Linked DNA regions of Homo sapiens: region 1 is linked to region 2. Evidence: promoter capture Hi-C in 16 types of primary human blood cells and fetal thymus (Javierre and others, 2016). All regions are on one chromosome and are shown on one strand. The core of a region is centred on a gene start or on the middle of the fragment in contact, and the rest is flanking DNA. Distances in the headings are between cores, read along the strand shown. Region 1 overlaps SAMD8 (sterile alpha motif domain containing 8). Region 2 holds the start of PPP3CB (protein phosphatase 3 catalytic subunit beta).

Region 1 (5,691 bases), core at 551-3,050, 1.6 Mb before region 2:
CACCCTTTTTTTTTTTTAAGATAGGGCCTCACTCTTTACCCAGGCTGGAGTGCAGTGGCGCAATCACAGCTTACTGCAGCTTTGACCTCCTGGGCTCAGGTGATCCTCCCACCTCAGCCTCCTGAGTTCTGGGACTATAGGTGCACACCACCACACCCGGCTAATTTTTGTATTTTTAGTAGAGACGAGGTCTCACTATGTTGCTCAGGCTGGTCTCAAACTCCTGGGCTCAAGGGATCCACCCACCTCAGCTTCCCAAAGTGCTGGGATTACATGCATGAGTCACCCCACCCAGCTGGTAAAATCTTTATTTTTAAATATGCTACACTGGCAGGCTGCGGTGGTTCACGCCTGTAAACCCAACTTTGGGAGGCCAAGGGGGGTGGATGCCTTGAGCCGAGGAGTTCAAAACCAGCCTGAGCAACATAGTGAGACCTCGTCTCTACTAAAAACACAAAAAATTAGCCGAGCATGGTGGCACGCGCCTGTAATCCCAGCTACTGGGGAGGCTGAGGTGGGAGAATTGCTTGAACCCGGGAGGCGAAGGTTGCTATGAACTGACATCACGCCACTGCACCAGGCTTCGGCAACGAAGTGAGACTCTGTCTCTAAATAAATAAATAAATATGCTACATCCAAAATCTAATCAATATAATGGAAAATGAGAAACTGGCTCAAGACTTCAAACTCCATTAAATATTGTGAAAATGGATTGGATTTGCAGCCAAATTTTAATGTATGGTTTTGGAAATCTCTGGCTTTCATGCTAATATTATATTGATGGAACTGACATCAATTCCATTTAATCTCAAAGTTCCAAACTAAAACAGATTTGCAAGTATTTCCAAAAACTCAGTGACACCAGTTAACCTATAGGAAGGCCCTAAATTAGCAGAATCCATGGTTCTCACCTCCAACTAGAATTTATCTGTCAAAAATTTCAAGACAACAGAACAAGTATCAAGATAACAGATACTCATGTTACTACCTCTTGTCCTCTGCCACAACTCATAAGCTTAACTAAATGCACTTCAAAAATTTAAGACACTCACACCTGTAATCCTAGCACTTTGGGAGGCTGAGGTGGGAGGACTGCTCGAGGCCAGGAGCTCTAAACCAGCCTGGTCAACATAGCTGATACCCCATCTCTACAAAAGAAAAATTTAAAAAAATTAGCCAGGTGTGGTGGCACACGCCTATAGTCCCAGCTACTCAGAAAGCTGAGGCAGGAGGACTGCTTGAGCCCAGGAGTTCAAGGCTGCATAAGCCATGATCGCGCCACTGTATTCCAGCCTGGGAGACAGTGAGACCCTATCTTTAAAAAAAAAAAACTACCAAAAAATACTTAGACAAATATAAATATAATTCACTGCCCTGCCCCACAACACTCTTTTCTGAGGTACATATCATAAAACATTGTTTTATGGTGAAACACTGTGGTGAAACTATTATAACCAAGTTTTTCTTAGTTAATAGTCTTTTTTTTTTTTTTTTTTTGAGACGGAGTCTCGCTCTGTTGCCCAGGCTGGAGTGCAGTGGTGTGATCTCCGCTCACTGCAAGCTCCGCCTCTCGGGTTCATGCCATTCTCCTGCCTCAGCCTCCTGAGTAGCTGGGACTACAGGCGCCTGCCACGAGGCCCGGCTAATTTTTTTGTATTTTTAGTAGAGACGGGGTTTCACCGTGTTCGCCAGGATGGTCTCGATCTCCTGGCCTCGTGATCCGCCCGCCTCGGCCTCCCAAAGTGCTGAGATTACAGGCGTGAGCCACCGTGCCCGCAGTATGTTACATTCTATAGTATTGTGAGGACCCAATAACAGAACATTTCAATACGGAAACATGAAGTCACTGAACTCAGCTAAAGGTTAGGCTTCAGATCTGTGATGATGGTACTGTGTGTATGGGAGGAGGGGGTTCAGGAATATTCACATCACAGGTCTGTTACAAATCCATACCCACACATTCATATGGCAAATTACCAGGAAGCAACAGCGGTAGCATGTAAACACCAATCTGTTTTCCCAGTGTGCCTGGCCCATGCTCTCCTATTTTTAGTTAACATCTTGATTTCTCAAGGCCAAGAAAACCACAAGACCTAAAGTAAGCATCACTGTCCTGATGATATCTGTTGTCAAATGGCTTTCTCTGTTCTTGCCCTACTATTAACCCCTCAATGTGTTACATCATACCCTTAGAGCAAAACAAAAACAAGAACAAAAACTGGTTCCAAAAGAATTCCCAAAATCACATGTAAGCAAGTATTAAAGATACGGCATTTTGCAAATAAGTAACTCTTTATTTGTAAACAAATATAAATACATGAGACGTGAAAATAATCAAGGCTCTCCCCTGTCATCTCTGCAAATAAGTAAAACATTTAATCTAATCTGGGAATGAAATAGTATAGTCCTCCTCTATAACCTAAATCCCTTAAAAGAATTTTGATTAGCTCATACTGTATTTTTTCACCAAATACCACAATCATTCAAAAGAGCTTCATAGGTAATTTAGCAGAATATGCAATTGTATTCATATCTCGTATAAATCAGTTTGATGTCCAAAGAGAATCAAAGCTACAGAAGCTTTAAAATTAAAAAGTGAATTCAATCTTAGTTCATTAACAATCCACTGGCATATGAAAAATGAAGGGGGTAGAATCTGAAGACAGGAAAGATTTCCATCCATAAATTAACGGGCATGCTAGGTACACCCAACAATTAACACCATATATTACATCAGGCCTGGAAGTAAAAATCTTGAAAGAATAGCTTGTTAACATGGCATTCTTATAAAACAATAATAATACTATTCATGGAAACATCTGTGATTTAAGTTTCTCAAAAAAAGTGTTCAAATTTCAATTCTTAGAAAAGCCATGAAAATGTCTTAATCAGTAACAGCAAAGTTTTGAAGAAGTATTGAGGATCTAATGATTAACAAAATAAAAAAATGTTTATAAGCAACTGTGCAATGTGAATAAGCTTTTGCAGAAGGGGGGTTATGGTACTGAAATCAAAACTGATTTACCTAAATATGTCTGCATATTCTGCCATCGCAGTCATGATGGCTTCTTCTGCCTTAGAGAAACCGATTTTTTTTTTTTTTTTGAGACATATCACTCTGTTGCCCAGGCTGGAGTGCAGTGGTGTGATCTCAGCTCACAACCTCTGCTTCCCGGGTTCAAGAGATTCTCCTGCCTCAGCCTCCTGAGTAGCTGGGATTACAGGTGTGAGCCACCACACCTGATTAATTCTTTTTATAGTATTAGTAGAGATGGGGTTTTGCCATGTTGGCCAAGCTGGTCTTGAACTCCTGACCTCAAGTGATCTGCCTGCTTCGGCCTCCTAAAGTGGTGGGATTACAGGAGTAAGCCACCACACCTAGCCAAAAACTGATTTTCTTTATTCAATGGGTGTGAGAACTGACAAAGGGAAACAAAAATTAAAAAACTATTAGACATGCTAATATGTTAATTGTACAACTCCATCTAACAGTTTCTCTTTAATTTTGCAATAACATTAAGCTGTAATCTTAATAGAGTTCTTATATTGCAGTTCAGCAAATTTTTACATGCCATGACTTTTATTCACAACTAAGTATGAAGATAAGGTCTCCAGAGGATCTCACTCTAAAGATAAAACCAACAAACAGTAATATTACATAAACTTCAACTGAAGATAATTTGTATTAAGTTAAAGAAAAGGGAATTAATACTTTAACAATCTCAGCATTTTTAGCTAAGAATTCACATATCCTTTGAAGAAACAATTACTATTCCACTGTGCATCTGAGGGTATGTCACATAGCCCATACACATAAACTAATTTAAAAGCTGTTGCAAATCAAATTATCATCTCATGAAGATTAAACAGTAGATATCCATTTAGATTTAATCAAGCATTTAGAAAACGCTTGATGCTAACAAAAATTAGCCAGCCATGGTGGCGCCCACCTGCAGTCCCAGCTACTCCCAGCTACTTGGGAGGCTGAGGTGGGAGGATCACTTAAGCCTGGGCAACACAGCGAATCTCTGTCTCAAAAAAAAAAAAGAAAGGAAAGAAAAGAAAAGAAGGAAGAGAAAAGAAATGGCCAACAACTTTACAAACCTATAATCACATAAAAAGTTGTAAAACATATGAGACATGTGGCTAAAGTCAAAGACTTCATGGAACCATGTTATGACTTAACAATCACAAAAGGAAGTCAATTTATCTCTACTAAAGTGAATATAAATATTGCAATCATTCTTTTTCTGGCATAATTATGTTTTGGAACTATGTCTTCTATAAAAAGCATCTGTATACCCACCTGTCCCAGTTGTGTTGGCTGCCAACTACAAGCATCCTCTGTCCTTATTTTTCCAAATCACTCTACTAAAAATACTATTCACACAATACCTGCAAAATAGTATTTCAATATTGGTTTTGCCAATCAGTCAAAGGTACCTCTCCAATTTTCAAGAGATAAGTCCAATCCTGGGGTTATCAGTGAGAGGAAGATTTGGTATTGCGCCTAGACTGTGGCAAGTTCACTGTGCCCCCTTCACCCAGAAACTTGCATTGACCATACATTTACTATGTGGCAAATACATGTGTCAACTTAAAACTTTGAAAGTGGAACCAGTCCATGTTGAGTATCTGTAAAATCCAAGTGTCCAAATTCTTGTTTCAAGTTTAATTTTTAAAATCTGAGTATCCAAAGTCTTGTTTCAAGTTTTTAAAACTTAAAGGTAATATAGTAAATTTTTAGGATCTTAACATGTCTGGTATTTAAACTTAGCTACGAAAAAATTACAATGAAAAAAAGGACACCATTACTGTCAATAAATCCAAATGATATCTTCATTTTCAGAATCACGTCTTCCACTACCTTCTTCAAACATCACTTCCTCTCCACTACTTCCCCCAGTCCTTTAGGCAAATCAGTGATTCACACCGCCCCTTCCACCCAAGATTCTTAAAATGATCCACTGTGCACGAACGAGAAAGCCCCACGATCCAAGTACATTGCCCTAGTGATCTTTGATGTTTTAAAAGGCACCTGTAAAAATGCCAAAGCCCAAAATTAGATCCCCAAGGGCTCCTTTTCTTTCTTGACCACACTTCTCTTTTTCAGTGCCTCCCTCACCCCTTGAGGCCAGACGATTTCCCATCCAACAGCCCTCCTCCTTCTAGTCAAACCTAAATCCTGCCCTCCATCACCACCAGCCCCACCCGGGGTGGGAGGCGGATAAGAGGGCTCCGTAAGAGGAGAACCCCATGAGAGGGCTCCAGTCCCAGCCCCGATCGCCCTCCCTCGCCCTGGGAAGGGAACACCGGCCCAGGTCTTGCTCCTCTGACTCCTCATCCCCGCTGCCAAACCCAGAGCATCTCTTCTTCCGGGTCCACATTCCCGCAGGACCTTCGATCTTTTTCCCCCACTGCGCAGCTTTCAAAAGCCCCCAAGCTCTGGGCTCTTCAAGCCTCCCCCTCTCGCTCTCTCCCTCTCGTTCCTCGGCCTCCACTTATCCCTCAGCCTTCAGGCCCTCAGTTCGACAACCTCCATTTGCTTCAGATTCCATTCCAGAGCTGACTATCCCGGTTCCCTCAACCGTCTCCCCGGGGCCCCTCCAGGTCGCGGTCCCTCGGCAGCCCCCGGCTCCATCCCAGACTCCCCACTCACCCTTGGCAGCAGGCGCCCCCCAAGCTCCCCTC
Region 2 (5,724 bases), core at 59-2,558:
TTCCTGACAGAGCATTCAGTACTCAGTACATTATACACTTCCTTCCTCCCCTCCTTAGGAAGATTTTCTGGGGATTCAAGCTCTTCTTACAGACTCACTCCTGATCAATGTACTCCAGGTGCCTTCCCTCTATCTTATAAGTTTGTGACGTGCCTCCTGTCCCTTCCTTCCTCTCCTTCCGTGGGGGCCTCTCCCTTTCCCTTCCCCTGTGGTGTTATGGCCCTTCCATGCCAGAAAGATCCATTTTCACCTGTGCCTCACTCCCGAGACTCTTCCCTCTAAAAAATAGCTTGTGGGTTCCCTTTTTGGAAAAAATCCATTGTTGGGTCTTTCCCTTCCTCTTTTCCTGGGGTCTCAGGATAGAAATTGACACAAAGAAGAGGTAGAAAGGTACTCCTTGGACCTTCGGACTACTACTTACTTACCACCATGCATTATGAACAGATTCTGAGCACATGTATTATTGAGCAGGAGGATGGGCAGGAATTGGTTGTTCCATCCCACTTGGATCCTGCACCATCAAGATATATAGAGCTTAGTGGATATGCTGGTCCCTGTCCATGATTCAACATATCTCCTGGTGTCGTGGACACACTCATCTAATAATTTTTGATGAACAGTCAGTTCTTGCCCCTCTACCCCCTTTCCCATGAGTGTCAGTCACCGTGGTCTCTATAAAGGTTCCATAAGTCACCTGGGCCCAGATTCTGTGCATGTGCAGAAATAAGGAATTAATTTCCAATTCCCTATTTACTCCTCTGCCTTCCAGGAGGAGGTTGTATCCTTTTCAGGTGAATTCTTCAGATTCTTTGCACATCTCTTGGTGTCATCCCCTTTATTCCCCTTACCTGTTTTGACAAACTATGGCGCCTAAATTGCTCTAGCTGCAGTCTTATTCTGTGCTTTCAGACTCTTGACAATTCCAGACTCTAAACACAAAGGCCAGAATTCTCTTTCAAACTCCATTTTGGATGGTCCCTTCTCCACTCTAGAACCTACAATGCTTCCTCTATTCTCTGGTCCCCTACCAACCCTTCAGTATTCAGATCTGGTAGCTAAATCGTTATACATTTCTCTATTAGTAGGAGATCCTGAGGTTTAATCACGTCTTCTCAGTTTACTGGGAATGCCATGAGAGCGGGTGTGTTTCCTCGCAGTCGTTCGATCGCAGCACCTCCTCATTCTTCATTCTGCATGCAAAGAATTTTAACCTGATCCCTTGGCCTCGTCCTGTTTCTCTCCTAGCTTCAGTAATTTTGCCCAAGTCCCTAGAGCCTACCCCGCCCCCACCCCCGCACGCGCAGTGCATGCCGGTCTTAGCCCCTCTGTAGGGAAAGAGGGTCCGCCATGTTCCCCGGCGGCGCCGCCGCTTGGCTCTGGTAGCCGCCGCCCCCGCCCCCAACCCCGCCCGGCCCAGAGCCTAGCCGAGCCCCGGGCCCAGCATGGCCGCCCCGGAGCCGGCCCGGGCTGCACCGCCCCCACCCCCGCCCCCGCCGCCCCCTCCCGGGGCTGACCGCGTCGTCAAAGGTGAGAGGTGGACGAAACCCTGGGGGCCTGGCCTGAAGAGCTAGCTGTGTGTGAGGGCGGGCGGGAGACCGTCCCCTCGGGAGTGGGCCCGGAAGGGCGGGCGAGTGACTGGCTGCCTCCCTTGGGGAGTGGCCCCTGGGCGGGCCCCTGCTGGGCAGGGCTGAGTCGGTGGCAGTGGTTCCGCGGTCTCCCGGTTGCTTTCAGGCCGGGGCGGAGGTTTTGCTTCCGTGGCTTCCTAGCCCAAGGGGTGAGGCTGTTAGCTGCAGTGAGCCCGTTTTCTCTTCACTCGGCCTGTCAAAGCGGCGCAGGGGCCGCGATTAGCTTCCTGCCCCGCGACAGCTGCACTTCTGGCTTGCCGGGGCGAACCGAGGGGCTCGGAGACCTTCAGCCACGCGAGGCCCGCCAGTGAGCAGTCAGAAATCACCTCGGCTTTGGCCCACGCCTGCTCCCCGGTGACAGTCGTCCGCCCTATCCGCGTCTAGCTGGCGACAACCGCAGGGGTTCACTTTTGGCCGTCAGGTGCCACCCGGAGCAGAAATTAGGGGAACCTTGTGGGATTGGATCACGGTGAAGGGTCGGGGCAGGAATTGGAAGGCCAGCCTTTATAGTGCAGAAAGGGAGAAAAAGCAGCATAAACGAAAAAAAAAATTCTTGTGGATAGCAAGTATTTACTTAGAAAACCATCAACACTTTGGTCAAAAGGAGTTACCCCTCCCTTACAAACACACACCCACACATTCATCCTAGACGAAAAAGTTAAATGTTTCTCAGCCAGGGCAGAATTTATGGATGTTTACCCACAACAGGTCAGCAGATTAATTTAAAATAGAGAAATTGAGGGCTAATTGAGAGTTGCTTAAGATTCCAAGCTTCCTGGGAGAGCCTACCAACCTCAAACACTGCTGTGGAGGTGAAAAACAATTGAAATGATTCTCTTTACCATGTAGCTTGATTGATAAATTGAAATCGTAGAATGAACTTTTCCTTATTTGTATTGTATTTATTTTTAAAATATAGGTACTTTTGTTTTCATTCAGCTTCTCAAATACACTGGCACAGTATTTAAACACCGTTAGCCTACTTTTTGAAATCTGACTCATATGTTTCCATTAAAATATTTAAAAACAAGGAAACCTTTTTTCTTTTTTTTTTTTAATTAAAAATTTTCAACCTGAGCCTTCTTCGGTTCTTAAAAGAATAATACTAATTTGGCCTGGCGTGGTGGCTCACATCTGTAATCCCAGCACTTTCGGATGCTGAGGCAGGCGGATCGCTTGAACTCAGGAGTTGGAGACCAGCCTGGGCAACATGGCGAAACCTTTTCTCTACCAAAAATACAAAAAATAAAAATTAGCCGGGCATGGTGGCGCGCCCCTGTAGTCCCAGCGGATCGGGAGGCTGAGGCACGAGAATCACTGGAGCCCGAGAGGCAGAAGTTGCAGTGAGCCGAGATTTGCGCCAGTGTGCTCCAACCTGGACGACAGAGCCAGACCCTGTCTCCAAAAACAAAAACAAAAACAAAAACAAAACACTGATTTGCACCTAGGCTTAAGTTAGTAGTATATCCAGTTGGGCCAGGCATTGGAATGAGCTGAATAACGAGTTTATGGAATCCTTAATACAGAGAAATCTTAAAAAAAAAATAGTAATGCAGACATTCATTCTATCAAGAAATCCTGGAGTTTTGTGGGGGTGGGAACGGGACATTGGCTACCTCTTCATTTTCTGACTGTATTTCTGTGTTGTGTGTTCATTTCCCTGGGCACTTTTCACCAGACTGTTAGATGGGGTAACCAATCACATTCCTGAACAATGAGTTTATGCTATCCTTACGTTTGTGAATCTTCTTATTCCTTGTCATATATATGGTAATGTTTTTTCTGTACTGCTTTAATGCAGTGAAAATAAGATTCCAAACATAAGGCAGATTCCTTAGGGGTGAGTTGTGAGTCCAAGGCAGTCATATTTGCAGGTTATTGGTGTGGAATAAAAGCCATTTGATTTAGATAAATAGGAAAGGAGCTTGTTAATATAGAAAATTATAGTTAAATAAAGCTTATGGTTATCATATTTCTGGTGCTTCATTGTGCCCTCTTCATAGAGACAACTTTCATTTCTTTATGGAATTTGTTAACCAGTTGGAATTCCTGTATGGATTATATGTTTTAAAATGGTGTGTAACAGACTAATTTGCACTGCTCATGGAGTCTCCTGCATTTACTGGGAAATTCACCTTTCTTACAGATCCAGAAATTCACTTTTAAATTTCATCTTCAGGATTCTTCCTTGTCTTTTATTCAGTAATTATACTATAATGTGATACCTGATATTAGAGAATACTGGTTGCCTGATGATAAATGATGTGAGTTCAGCTTAAGTTTAACTTGTTAAAATCCAAATTTCTTTTAAGTCCACAATGTGGTGGTAGTTTTGTATCGATACATTTTCATAGTAGTGATATTATGGAGACTGTCTGTTGGCATTGAATGCAAGTAGTCTTTTTCTCCCTGGAATTTTTTTTTTTTTTTTGAGACGGAGTTTCACTCTTGTTGCCCAAGTGGAGTGCAGTGGCGCGATCTCTACTCACTGCAACCTCTGCCTCCTGGGTTCAAGCGATTCTCCTGCCTCAGCCTCCCGAGTAGCTGGGATTATAGGTGCGCGCCACCATGCCCGGTTAATTTTTTGTATTTTTTAGCAGAGACGGGGTTTCACCATGTTGGCCAGGCTGGTCTCAAACTCCTGACCTCATGATCCTCCCACCGTGGCCTCCCAAAGTGTTGGGATTACAGGCGTGAGCCACCGCGCCCGGCCTGCCTCCCTGGAACTTCTTAGTGTCAAAATTTTATACTCCATGCTTGTAGTCATAAGGCCTACATTTTATGGTCATGTAGGTTTTTAAGGGTGTATAGGTCTTTCTGTGTTTAAGATCAGATACCTGAAATTCACTTTTTGTGAAGTTTGGGAGCTTGGAATACTGTAGGTGATTCATGAGTAAATGTGATGAGCTTGTCACTAAAATTATTAGTGGTAATTCCATGTCATTGATTATGGGTCATTAGGTTTTTGGTTGATTAAATTCAGTTCTGAGCCTACTCCAGCTGCTGGCTCAAGTCAAATTCTTCCCCTGTTTGAAAGTTGATCTAACCCACCTGATTAAGCAAGATGGTATATACCCTTTTAATTATATTCTATTAAGCATTCTTTAGCTATGTAGGAAATAAGAAAGTGGAAAAAAATTAGGAAAAATATCTAACCGTATCTGCATGTGTGCTTTCTTACCACATCAGCAAAGCTGGTATAGGTAATTGAAGCACAAAATCCTGAATTTATATATATTGCTTTCCCTCCTCCCCACAAAGTTTACTTGACCTGAATTGCCCAGATACCTCCTTTTTTCCCCAGATACTTAAAAAATGTACGTTTTGCTTTGTATACCAGGTTCTAGATTTGTAAAGCTGGATTGTCTCTTGAGATTATCAAGACTGTTAGTATTAATAAAAAATTCACCTTTTTACTTAGAGAGCATTGTCAGTATTGGGCATATGTTCATTTTAGCACCTACAATGTGAGTCATTTTCTTAACATTATTTTATTTCATGGGTTATAGTAACCTCAAATTATCAGACTTTCAGATTGAACCAAAATGCTGAATTTATGTGTTTTAATTTTTTTTAAGCTAAAGTATTTCTGATTGACAACGTTAGAATTCATTTGGATTCTGTTGCCAGTTGCCCTGCTTATAAATCTGAAGTCATTTGGCTAAAGTGTTTTCTAGTAGCTTTCCTTTAGGAGGATTACTTTTTGTTTATTTATTTATTTATTTATTTATTTATTTTTGAGATGGAGTTTCGCTCTTCTTGCCTAGACTGGAGTGCAATGGCGCAATCTCGGCTCACTGCAACCTCCACCTCCCGGGTTCAAACGATTCTCCTGCCTCAACCTCCCAAGTAGCTGGGATTACAGGCATGTGCCACCACGCCCGGCTAATTTTGTATTTTTAGTAGAGACGACATTTCTCCATGTTGGTCAGGCTGGTCTCGATCTCCTGACCTCAGGTGATCCACCCACCCTGGCCTCCCAAAATGCTGGGATTATAGGCATGAGCCACCGTGCCTAGCCAGATTACTTATTTTCAGATAACCCATATAGCCTTGGTGTGACATAGCTACTTCAGTGTTTCTTGCTAGTTCTATTTCA

Evidence for each region. Contacts are between HindIII fragments. The CHiCAGO score rates a contact against its expected background, and 5 or more counts as called.
Region 1: a contact is called between a fragment that was not itself captured here and the fragment with the promoter of PPP3CB in region 2, in 1 of 17 cell types (fetal thymus). The highest score is 5.0, in fetal thymus.

What each region holds. Positions count from the first base shown.
Region 1 is chr10:75,111,747-75,117,437 of GRCh38, reverse strand. All of the region lies in intron 1 of SAMD8 (sterile alpha motif domain containing 8), which reads right to left. Among named protein-coding and RNA genes, the nearest start is that of SAMD8, 2.9 kb to the right of the region's middle. RefSeq lists an enhancer at 5,074-5,691. The HindIII fragment of the contact is 1,565 bases long and covers 1,018-2,582 here.
Region 2 is chr10:73,491,608-73,497,331 of GRCh38, reverse strand. It overlaps PPP3CB (protein phosphatase 3 catalytic subunit beta), which reads left to right and starts at 1,308. Exons shown (of 14, transcript NM_021132.4): 1 at 1,308-1,527. The coding sequence starts at 1,443. PPP3CB-AS1 (PPP3CB antisense RNA 1) reads right to left here and starts at 1,580. Exons shown (of 5, transcript NR_132104.1): 1 at 1,515-1,580; 2 at 849-1,190. RefSeq lists enhancers at 1,102-1,291, 1,782-2,241 and a silencer at 1,372-1,721. The HindIII fragment of the contact is 5,148 bases long and covers 1-2,398 here.